Regions from separate parts of the Homo sapiens genome. Here all the other regions are linked to region 3. Evidence: promoter capture Hi-C in human tissues and cell types (Jung and others, 2019). All regions are on one chromosome and are shown on one strand. The core of a region is centred on a gene start or on the middle of the fragment in contact, and the rest is flanking DNA. Distances in the headings are between cores, read along the strand shown.

Evidence for each region. Contacts are between HindIII fragments. The study calls those that stand out against the background at their distance.
Region 1: a contact is called between the fragment with the promoter of BRSK2 here and a fragment that was not itself captured in region 3, in 8 of the 25 tissues and cell types used here (H1 embryonic stem cells, dorsolateral prefrontal cortex, liver and 5 more).
Region 2: a contact is called between the fragment with the promoter of KRTAP5-1 here and a fragment that was not itself captured in region 3, in 6 of the 25 tissues and cell types used here (adrenal gland, bladder, dorsolateral prefrontal cortex and 3 more).

The regions. Positions count from the first base shown.
Region 1 is chr11:1,388,573-1,391,301 of GRCh38, forward strand. BRSK2 (BR serine/threonine kinase 2) reads left to right here and starts at 1,362. Exons shown (of 20, transcript NM_001256627.2): 1 at 1,362-1,803. The coding sequence starts at 1,713. RefSeq lists a silencer at 759-1,128. The HindIII fragment of the contact is 11,739 bases long and covers 1-2,729 here.
Region 2 is chr11:1,584,019-1,586,891 of GRCh38, forward strand. It overlaps KRTAP5-1 (keratin associated protein 5-1), which reads right to left and starts at 1,265. Exons shown (of 1, transcript NM_001005922.1): 1 at 324-1,265. The coding sequence starts at 1,231. The coding sequence ends at 395. The region is part of intron 1 of KRTAP5-AS1 (KRTAP5-1/KRTAP5-2 antisense RNA 1); the gene reads left to right. The HindIII fragment of the contact is 15,838 bases long and covers 1-2,873 here.
Region 3 is chr11:1,492,539-1,495,409 of GRCh38, forward strand. No RefSeq gene overlaps it. Among named protein-coding and RNA genes, the nearest start is that of MOB2, 7.2 kb to the left of the region's middle. The HindIII fragment of the contact is 6,425 bases long and covers 1-2,871 here.

The DNA of each region.
Region 1 (2,729 bases), core at 112-2,611, 100 kb before region 3:
TGAGCTCATACGGGCTTACCAGCGTGGGGAGCGGACCACGGTCAGCAGCAGTGTGTGGCAGAGCCCGCAGGGGAAACGTTGCCCGCAGACCATACACGGGCAAGATCTGGGACCCCCACTTCTGCAGCGTTCCGGGTCTCCCTCACCTCTCCCCTCCCACCACCTTCTGCAGCACGGGCTTAAGGAAATACCAGTGTTTTTCTGCAAAGAAACAGAGGGTCCGTCCAGGTCTGGCTGCCTCTTCGGCTGCCTGTGTTTAGACCTCCAAAGGCTGCTCCCGGCAACCCCTGCCCAGCTGCTCAACCTGAAAGAGGGGTCGGTAGCAAGGGCCGGGAGGCGCCAGGGCGCTGCGGCCGGATCCCAGGTGAGTTCCTTGACTCCGCGCCGCGCAGGTCACTGTGGCATAACTGGGAAAACCGCCGCTTCTCCCTCGGGAGCGGAGGCGGAGGGCCACGTCCTCCCTGGGGGTGCACAATCTCTGCTTGGACAACGCCCGCGTGCAGTAGCCCCACAGACTCCCATGCAGCCCCCCCGCCACGTGTGCCGCATCCGCGCCCTGCATGCAACACCCGCCCCCTCCAGCGCAGCATGCCCCTCGCTGGCGTGCAGCACCCCCCATGTGTGCAGCACCCCTGCCCCGAATACAGCACCTCTCCCCAGTACAGCACTCCCGCCCCGCATGCAACACTCGCCCCCCTCCAGGGCAGCATCCCCATCCCCCGCGCGTGCAGCACCCCCTCGAGGGGCGGGAAACTCTTTGGGACACCCGGGGTCACGCCCTGCAGGGTAAAACCCCCGTCCAGGGCAGCCATCTGCACCCCCTCGCCATGGGCCCACTGCCTGCTCCGTCCCGGGATGCGCCTTAATGGCGGGTCGGGCGGCAGCGGGAGCTCTGCTGCCTGGTGGGACCGGACGTGGCAGCCGGCGGGCTGGAGGCTCCCAGGTCCCGGCCTCGCCCTGGCCTCGCCTCGCCCCCTAGAGTCTCCCCGAGCGCTCGTAGCGGCGGGGCGGGGTGGGGAGGCGCTGATTGGCCGGCGCGGGCACCGCTTGCCGCCGCCACGGCATCCCGCTGCGTTCGTACAGGCTCGTGTCGACTCGGCTCCGTTGCGCGGCCCGGCTCGGCTCCCCTCAGCTGCGCTCGACTCCGCTGTTCGGCTCGGCTGTTCGGCTTGGCTACAGGGCTCGGCTGTTCGGCTTGGCTACATGGCTCGGCTGCGCGGCTCGGCTCTGTTCGGCTCGGCTCGGCTGCTGGGCTCGGCTGTTCGGCTCAGCTGCGCGGCTCGGCTCGTCTCGGCTCTGTTCGGCTCGGCTCGGCTGCTGGGCTCGGCTGTTCGGCTCAGCTGCACGGCTCGGCTCGGCTCGGCTCGGCTCGGCTGCGCGGCCGCTGACGGGCGTGCGCTGGGGGCGCGGGGCGCGGGGCGCGGGCCTCGGCGGCGGCGGCGGCGGCGGCGGCGGAAGCCAGGTGCCCCCGCCCGCCCTGTCCTCTCGACGAGGCGGAGGCGTCGCCGCGGGCCAGGCCTCGGACTGCCGCGTCGGAGTGGACGCGGGGGGCGGCGGCGCGGGCGGACGCGGGCGGCGCGAAGCAGCGGGGCCCGCGGGGGCGCCCCGGCCGGGTCGGCGCGGACGGCACTCGGCGGACGCGGGCGGACGCTGGGCGGCCCCTCCCTGCCCGCGCGCCCGGGCGCCCCTGGCCGGCGCCGGGCCCCAGAGCGATGACATCGACGGGGAAGGACGGCGGCGCGCAGCACGCGCAGTATGTTGGGCCCTACCGGCTGGAGAAGACGCTGGGCAAGGGGCAGACAGGTGCGTGCGGCCGGGGCGGGGACCGGGGCCGGGGAGGCCGCGCTGGCAGCGCGCTGGGTGGGGGGCGCCCGAGGGAGGCCCCGGCCGCGAAGCCGCAGGCCCGGCCCGGGCCCCGGCCGCGAACAATGGGCGGCCCGTGCGCCCCCGTCCGCTCGTGCGCCCCGGTTCCGCCGCGGATCCCGCAGGCCGCTTGGCTGCGGTCGGCCGGGCGCGGCCCAAGGACACGCGGCGCGGCGCGGGGCGCGCAGGCGGACAGGGGCGCACGGGACGGCGCCCCTCGGGCCCCGCTGCAGGTGCGCGGCCCGGGCCGCATTGTGCGCCCCAGCGACCGGGCCCATTGTGCCGCGGGAGGAGGGGGCCGCGCGGGCGCCCATCTGCCGTCTGCCGCGGCCGCGCTAATAGGCGTGCTGCCCGAGCAGCTGCGCCCCCGGCGGGACTCCCACCTCCGCGCGCCGGCCACCGGGGCCTCCGGGCAGGCCCGATCTCCCTCCGCGGTGGGGGCGGGAGAGTGCGGGGACCTGCAGAGGGCTGGACAGCGCCTTGCGCTGCTCCGGCTCGGGCTCGGGCGGGCGGAGCGTCTGTGACCTGCATTCCCACGGGGCAGGGAGAGGCCATTGGTGCTGGGACCAGAAGTGCGTGGGACCTGACCCGTGGAGCAGCCCCGCGGCCTGCCGGTGGAGGGGGCTTCCCGGTGGGGCCTGGCTGTCATTCTAGGGAACAGGCCGGGTCCCTGCGGGGCCGAACCCAGGCCAGAGGCAACCCAGCTACCCTCGCATGTGGCCAACTCTCCCCGGCCCGCTGGGTTTGGCTAGCCCTTCATCTGGTCAGGCACATTCACAGAGTCGCCTTTGTGGAGGCTGGGGCTCAGCCATTTTCTTTCTTCTCTCAGGACCGGCCTGTCTCTTGGTGTCCCCGAGGTCCCACGG
Region 2 (2,873 bases), core at 15-2,514, 91 kb after region 3:
GGTTTATTGGATGTTTAAAGGACAGAGATCTGAACTCCTAGTGACTGCAGAGTGAGCAAGCACCCTGGGCTGTCCTGCAGGGCTGTCCGTGCTGGATGTGGTGCCAGCAGGCAGGGCTTGCGGATAGGCATTTGCTGCAGGTGGCTGGGGCGGTGGGGGGCTGGTCTCCAGATGCCTGGAAGGGAGGCCTTGAAAGTCATTCTTCTTGGATGCATGGGCCCATGGCATTTCTTGGTAGAAGGTCAAAGAGAAGTGTTCATGCTTGGCAAGGCAGGAGGGTGGGAGATAGGGTAGTGGGTGGGGAAGGAGAGTCTGGCTCACTGGGTGCCAGGAAAAGGAGGTAAAGGCTGGGCAGGAATGCCTGGCCATGGTAAGAGTCCTGCAAAGCCAGAAATCAGATCTTGCACTGGCAGCACACGGGGACACAGCAACTGGACTGGGAGCAGCAGGGCTTGCAGCAGCTGGATTGGCAACAGGATGACCCACAGCCTGAGGAACAGCAGCAGGGCTTACAGCAACTGCACTGGGAGCAGGATGACCCGCAGCCTCCCTTAGACCCCGCGCAAGAGCCACAACTGGAACAGGAACAGCAACACACGGGCACACCGCAGCCGGAGCCACAGCCCCCACAGCCGGAGCCACAACCCCCCTTGGATCCCCCACAAGAACCGCAGCCCCCCTTGCAGCCTCCACAGGAGCCACAGCCCCCCTTGGAGCCCCCACAAGAACCACAGGCCCCCTTGGAGCACCCACAGGAGCCACAGCCCCCTTTGCCACAGCTGGAGCAGGAACAAGCTGGCACACAGCAGCACATGGGCTTGCAGCAGCAGACAGGCACACAGCAGCTGGAGCCACATCCCCCACAGCCGGAACCACAGCCACCCTTGGATCCCCCACAAGAGCCACAGCCCCCCTTGGAGCCCCCACAGGAGCCACAACCCCCCTTGGATCCCCCACAAGAGCCACAGCCCCCCTTGCAGCCTCCACAGGAGCCACAGCCCCCCTTGGAGCCCCCAGAAGAGCCACAGCCCCCTTTGCCACAGCTGGAGCAGGAACAGGTTGGCACACGGCAGCACACGGGCTTGCAGCAGCAGACGGGCACACAGCAGCTGGAGCCAGAACCTCCACAGCCAGAGCCACAGCCCCCACAGCCGGAGCCACAGCCCCCACAGCCGGAGCCACAGCCCCCACAGCTGGAGCCACAGCCTCCGGAGCAGCCGCAACAGCCCATGGTTCTGGTGGATTGAGGGTGGAGCAGGTAGAGGAGCAGGTGAGAGGGAGGTGCAGGTGTGGAGCTCCCTGAGCCTGGACCCTTTATATCCCTGCCCAGGGTCATGTGTGAGGCTGGGCACACATTTCCTGGTTCCTGTTTGTGCCATTTTTAGGGCCCCTTTTTCTTGTTTCCTCTAGAAATCCGCCCCTTGGTGTATGGGCTGCTCAGTGGGCTGCTGCTCTCTTGCTGAATCTGTGTCCAGACTTAATGGAGGCCCCCAAGGGTCTAGCCTCTCCCTGTTGACTCCAGAGTCACACTGGATTTACAAAAGCATCTATTTTAGGCTGGGCATGGTGGCTCACACCTGTAATCTCAGCACTTTGGGAGGCCTAGGCAGGTGGATCACTTGAGGTGAGGGGTTGGAGACCAGCCTGGCCAAAATGGTGAAATCTCGTGTCTACTAAAAACACAAAAATTAACTGGGTGTGGTGGCTCACATCTGTAATCCCAGCACTTTGGGAGGCCGAGGCAGGTGGATCATTTGAGGTCAGGAGTTGGAGACCAGCCTGCCCAACATGGCAAAACCCCATCTCTACTAAAAATACAAAAATTAGCCAGGCATGGTGGTGCATGCTTGTAACTCCAGCTACTTGGGAGGCTGAGGCAGGAGAATGGCTTGAACCCAGAGGTGAAGGTTGCAGTGAGCAGAGATCACACCACTGCACTCTAGTGTGGGCAACAGAGCGGGACTCTGTCTCAAAAAAAAAAAAAAAGTGATCTATTTTAGTTGAACGATGGTATAAAGAGTAATATATTTAAAAAATGTAAAAAAAAACCCTACTCAACTTGGGAAAAAATGGCATAAATAAATGAAGTCTCTGTTCCTCCATCTCTCCATATTGTTTCTGTCCCACCCTAATAATTTCTTGAATTTGGAATTCACCACTCTCATGAAGGTCCTCACACTCCTACTTAATATGTATGTTCCTTTAAAAATGTTTTGTGGCCAGGCGCGGTGGCTCACACCTGTAATTTCAGCACTTTGGGAGGCTGAGGTGGGCGGATCATTTGAGTCCAGGAGTTTGAGACCAGCCTCACTAACATGGTGAAACCTCGTCTTTACTAAAAATACAAAAATTAACCAGGTATGGTGGCATGTGCCTGTAATCCCAGCTATTCGGGAGGCTGAGGCAGGAGAATCGCTTGAACCTGGGAGGCAGTGGTTGCAGTGAGCTGAAATCACGCCATTGCACTCCAGCCTGGGCAACAGAGTGAGACTCTATCTCAAAAAAAAAAAAAAAAAAAGAAAAGAAAAAAGAAAAAAAAATTTTACATGCTGAAAACTTTATGTAATGGGTATTACACTGTATTTCTCTTTCTGTAAATTGCTTTTGAAAAAAATAGGTGTTAGGCTAAAGAGATTTTCTCTAGGGATACATATGGTTTTAATTTATTTGTTTTCTCTGATTTCTAAATATACATTGACTTATCCATTTACTTGTTGATGGACCTTTTGTTTCCTTTTTGTTGCTATTTCAAGCAAGCTGCAACTTTCTTGCCCAAAACCCCTCCTGCAGGTGTGGGTGCCTGAAAGTCAGGAGGTTCTTGTTACCAAGCTGTCTTCCCAAGGGATCCCCCCAGCCAGCTGCTGTCCAACCAG
Region 3 (2,871 bases), core at 362-2,861:
CTGGGAGCCTCTCAGGCTGCAGGTGGGGATGGTGAAACCACATGGGGCCTGCAGTCTGGAGAAGCTGAGGTGGCAGGGATGGAAGTCTCAAGCCGCTGAGCTGTTGAAATTTGCAGGATGAGGAGGCAGTCAGGACAGAGCTGCACAGAGAAGGGACTCTAAAAACATCAACAGGGATCCAAGGAAGCTTCTGGACAAATAGCTGAGGGTGTCAGAGAGAACATCTGCAAGACCTGGCAGAGAACAGCTCTGGGAAGCGTGAGGAAGAGAGGTTCTGGAGGCCACACGGGGCAGGAGACAGACGTGTTCCCACACCCAGACTGGAGACACCTTGGGCGAATAGATTTAACAGAGATTCCACAATGGCTGTGCCATGGGGACTGGGCTACAATAGCCCAGAGTGAGGGGGTTCTCTGGACCTGGCATAATAAAGCTTAAAAACAAGCCTCAAACGGATCCTAGCTAACCAAGAGCAAATTAACTGCCTTCCAGAACAAACCACACTACTCTTTAAGGGAGGAAAACAGAACTGAGACTTTCAACAACATTGCTACCACAATACCTAGTGTACAAAAAAATTACTAGACAGGTGAAGCAGAAAAATGTAACTCATAACCAGGAAAAATAAGTCAACAGAAACAGGCCTAGAGATAACAAAGATAATGAAAGTAACAAACAAAGACTTTAAAAGAATGAAATAAATATATTCAACGATTTATTTATTTATTTAGACAGTGTCCTCTATTGCCCGGGCTGGAGTGCAGTGGCACAATCTCGGCTCACTGCAACCTCTGTCTCCCAAGTGATTCTCCTGCCTCAGCCTCCAGAGCAGCTGGGATTACAGGCGAACGCCACCAAGCACAGCTAATTTTTGTATTTTTGTAGAGATGAGGTTTCACCATGTTGGCTACGCTGGTCTCAAACTCCTCACCTAAAGTAATCTGTCCGCCTTGGCCTCCCAAAAGTGCTGGGATTACTGGCATGAGACATTGTGCCCGGCCAATATATCCAAAGATTTAGAGGAAAGGTTGGACATAATCAACAAAGCAATTAGGGCTCTGAAAAAATCGGAAACTCCACAAAATAATAAACAAAAATTCCTGGAACTGAAGAATACATCGAAAATGAAATTTTTGAGATGAAATGAACATCAGATTAAACAGTGCTAAAGAGAAGATTACAATAAAAACATCACTTATAAAAATGTGTAGAATGCAGCTAAAGCTCAGCTGAGGAAGAAATTTATAAATGTTCATATTAGGAGAGAAGGCTTAAAATGAGTGATTCATACATCCACCTTCAGAAGCCAGAAAAAGGAAGTGCATATTAAATGCAAAGTGGAAGGAAATAACAGAAATCTATGAAATGAAAAATAGACAAATAATGAAGAATTAAACACAAAGTTAGCCTGGAAAACTTAAAAAAAAAAAAAGATCAATTTCCCAAGCAGACTAAGCAGAAAAGAGACAGAGAGCCAAGAGAGGAAGAGGGCATAAATTACCGATATCAGAAATGAAAGGGACATTCCTACAGATCCTACAGATATTAAGCGGGTAACAAAGCACTATAAGGAACTGAATGCCAAGAGAAAATGTAGATGAAACAGACAAATTTTTCACAAACACAAGCTACCAAAACTGACATACAAAGAAGTAGAAAATCTGAATTTATAATTAAAAATCTTTCTACAAGGAAATGGTGGGTGCAGGTGGCTTACGGATGAACTCTACACACGATATAAGTAAGAAATAATACAAACCATACACATACTCTTTCAGAAAACAGAGGAGGAGGACCAGCATAATGCTGCTGCCAAAGTGAGACAACAGCATTCCTAGAAAAGGGAAATTACAGCCCAATATCCTTCATGAATGTGGATGCAAAACTCTGTAATAAAATAGTAACAAACTAATTCAACAACGTATTGAAAGGATAATACAGCATAGCCAAGAGAGATTCACCCAGTAATGTAAGCTTAGCTAACACCTGAAAATCAATGTCATTCACCACATTAATGAAAGGAGAAAAAAATATGGCCATCTCAATTAGATGCAGACACAGCACATGGCAAAACGTGTATGCAAACTCTCAGCAAACCAGGAACAGAAGGGACCATCCTCAGCTGAGAAAGGACACCTATAAAAAATCTGAAGCTAACATCAAATGCTGCTGATGGAGTAAAGATTTTCCCCCTAAAATCAGAAACAAGGAAGGGGCTCTGAGCACTTCTCACTCTCACCACTCTTATTCGGTGTCACTCTTATACCAGCGGCACAATGAGGCCACTGTAATGAGGCAAGACAAAGGTATACAAGGCATAAATACTGGAAAGGAAAAGGTCGTCTTGTTTGGCAGGTAACATGGTTATGTAAACAGAAAAGTCTAAGGAAACTGGGGCAAGTCTGCTAGAACTAATAAGTAAATTTAGTGGCATCACAGGGCACAAGGTCAGTAAAGAAAATTAATTTTATTCCTATATAATAGCAACAAATAAATGGAAAATACAATTATAAAACTGCTATTTACAATATAATTTTTAAATTTAGGAATAATCTTAACACAAATGTACAAAGCCTCTCACTGAAAAGCACAAAACAATGCTGAGAAAAATTAAAGACCTAAACACATAAAAAAATTTGCCATGGCCATGGATTAGAAGACTCAATATTGTTAAGATGTCAATTTTCTTAATTAAATACAATCCTATCAAAATCCCGGGATAATTTCTTATTTTTAAAAGAAATTAACAAGAAGATTCTTGGTTTTTTGTTTGTTTTTTGTTTGTTTGTTTTGAGACGGAGTTTCACTCTTCTTACCCAGGCTAGAGTGCAATGGCACAATCTCAGCTCACTGCAACCTCTGCCTCCCGGG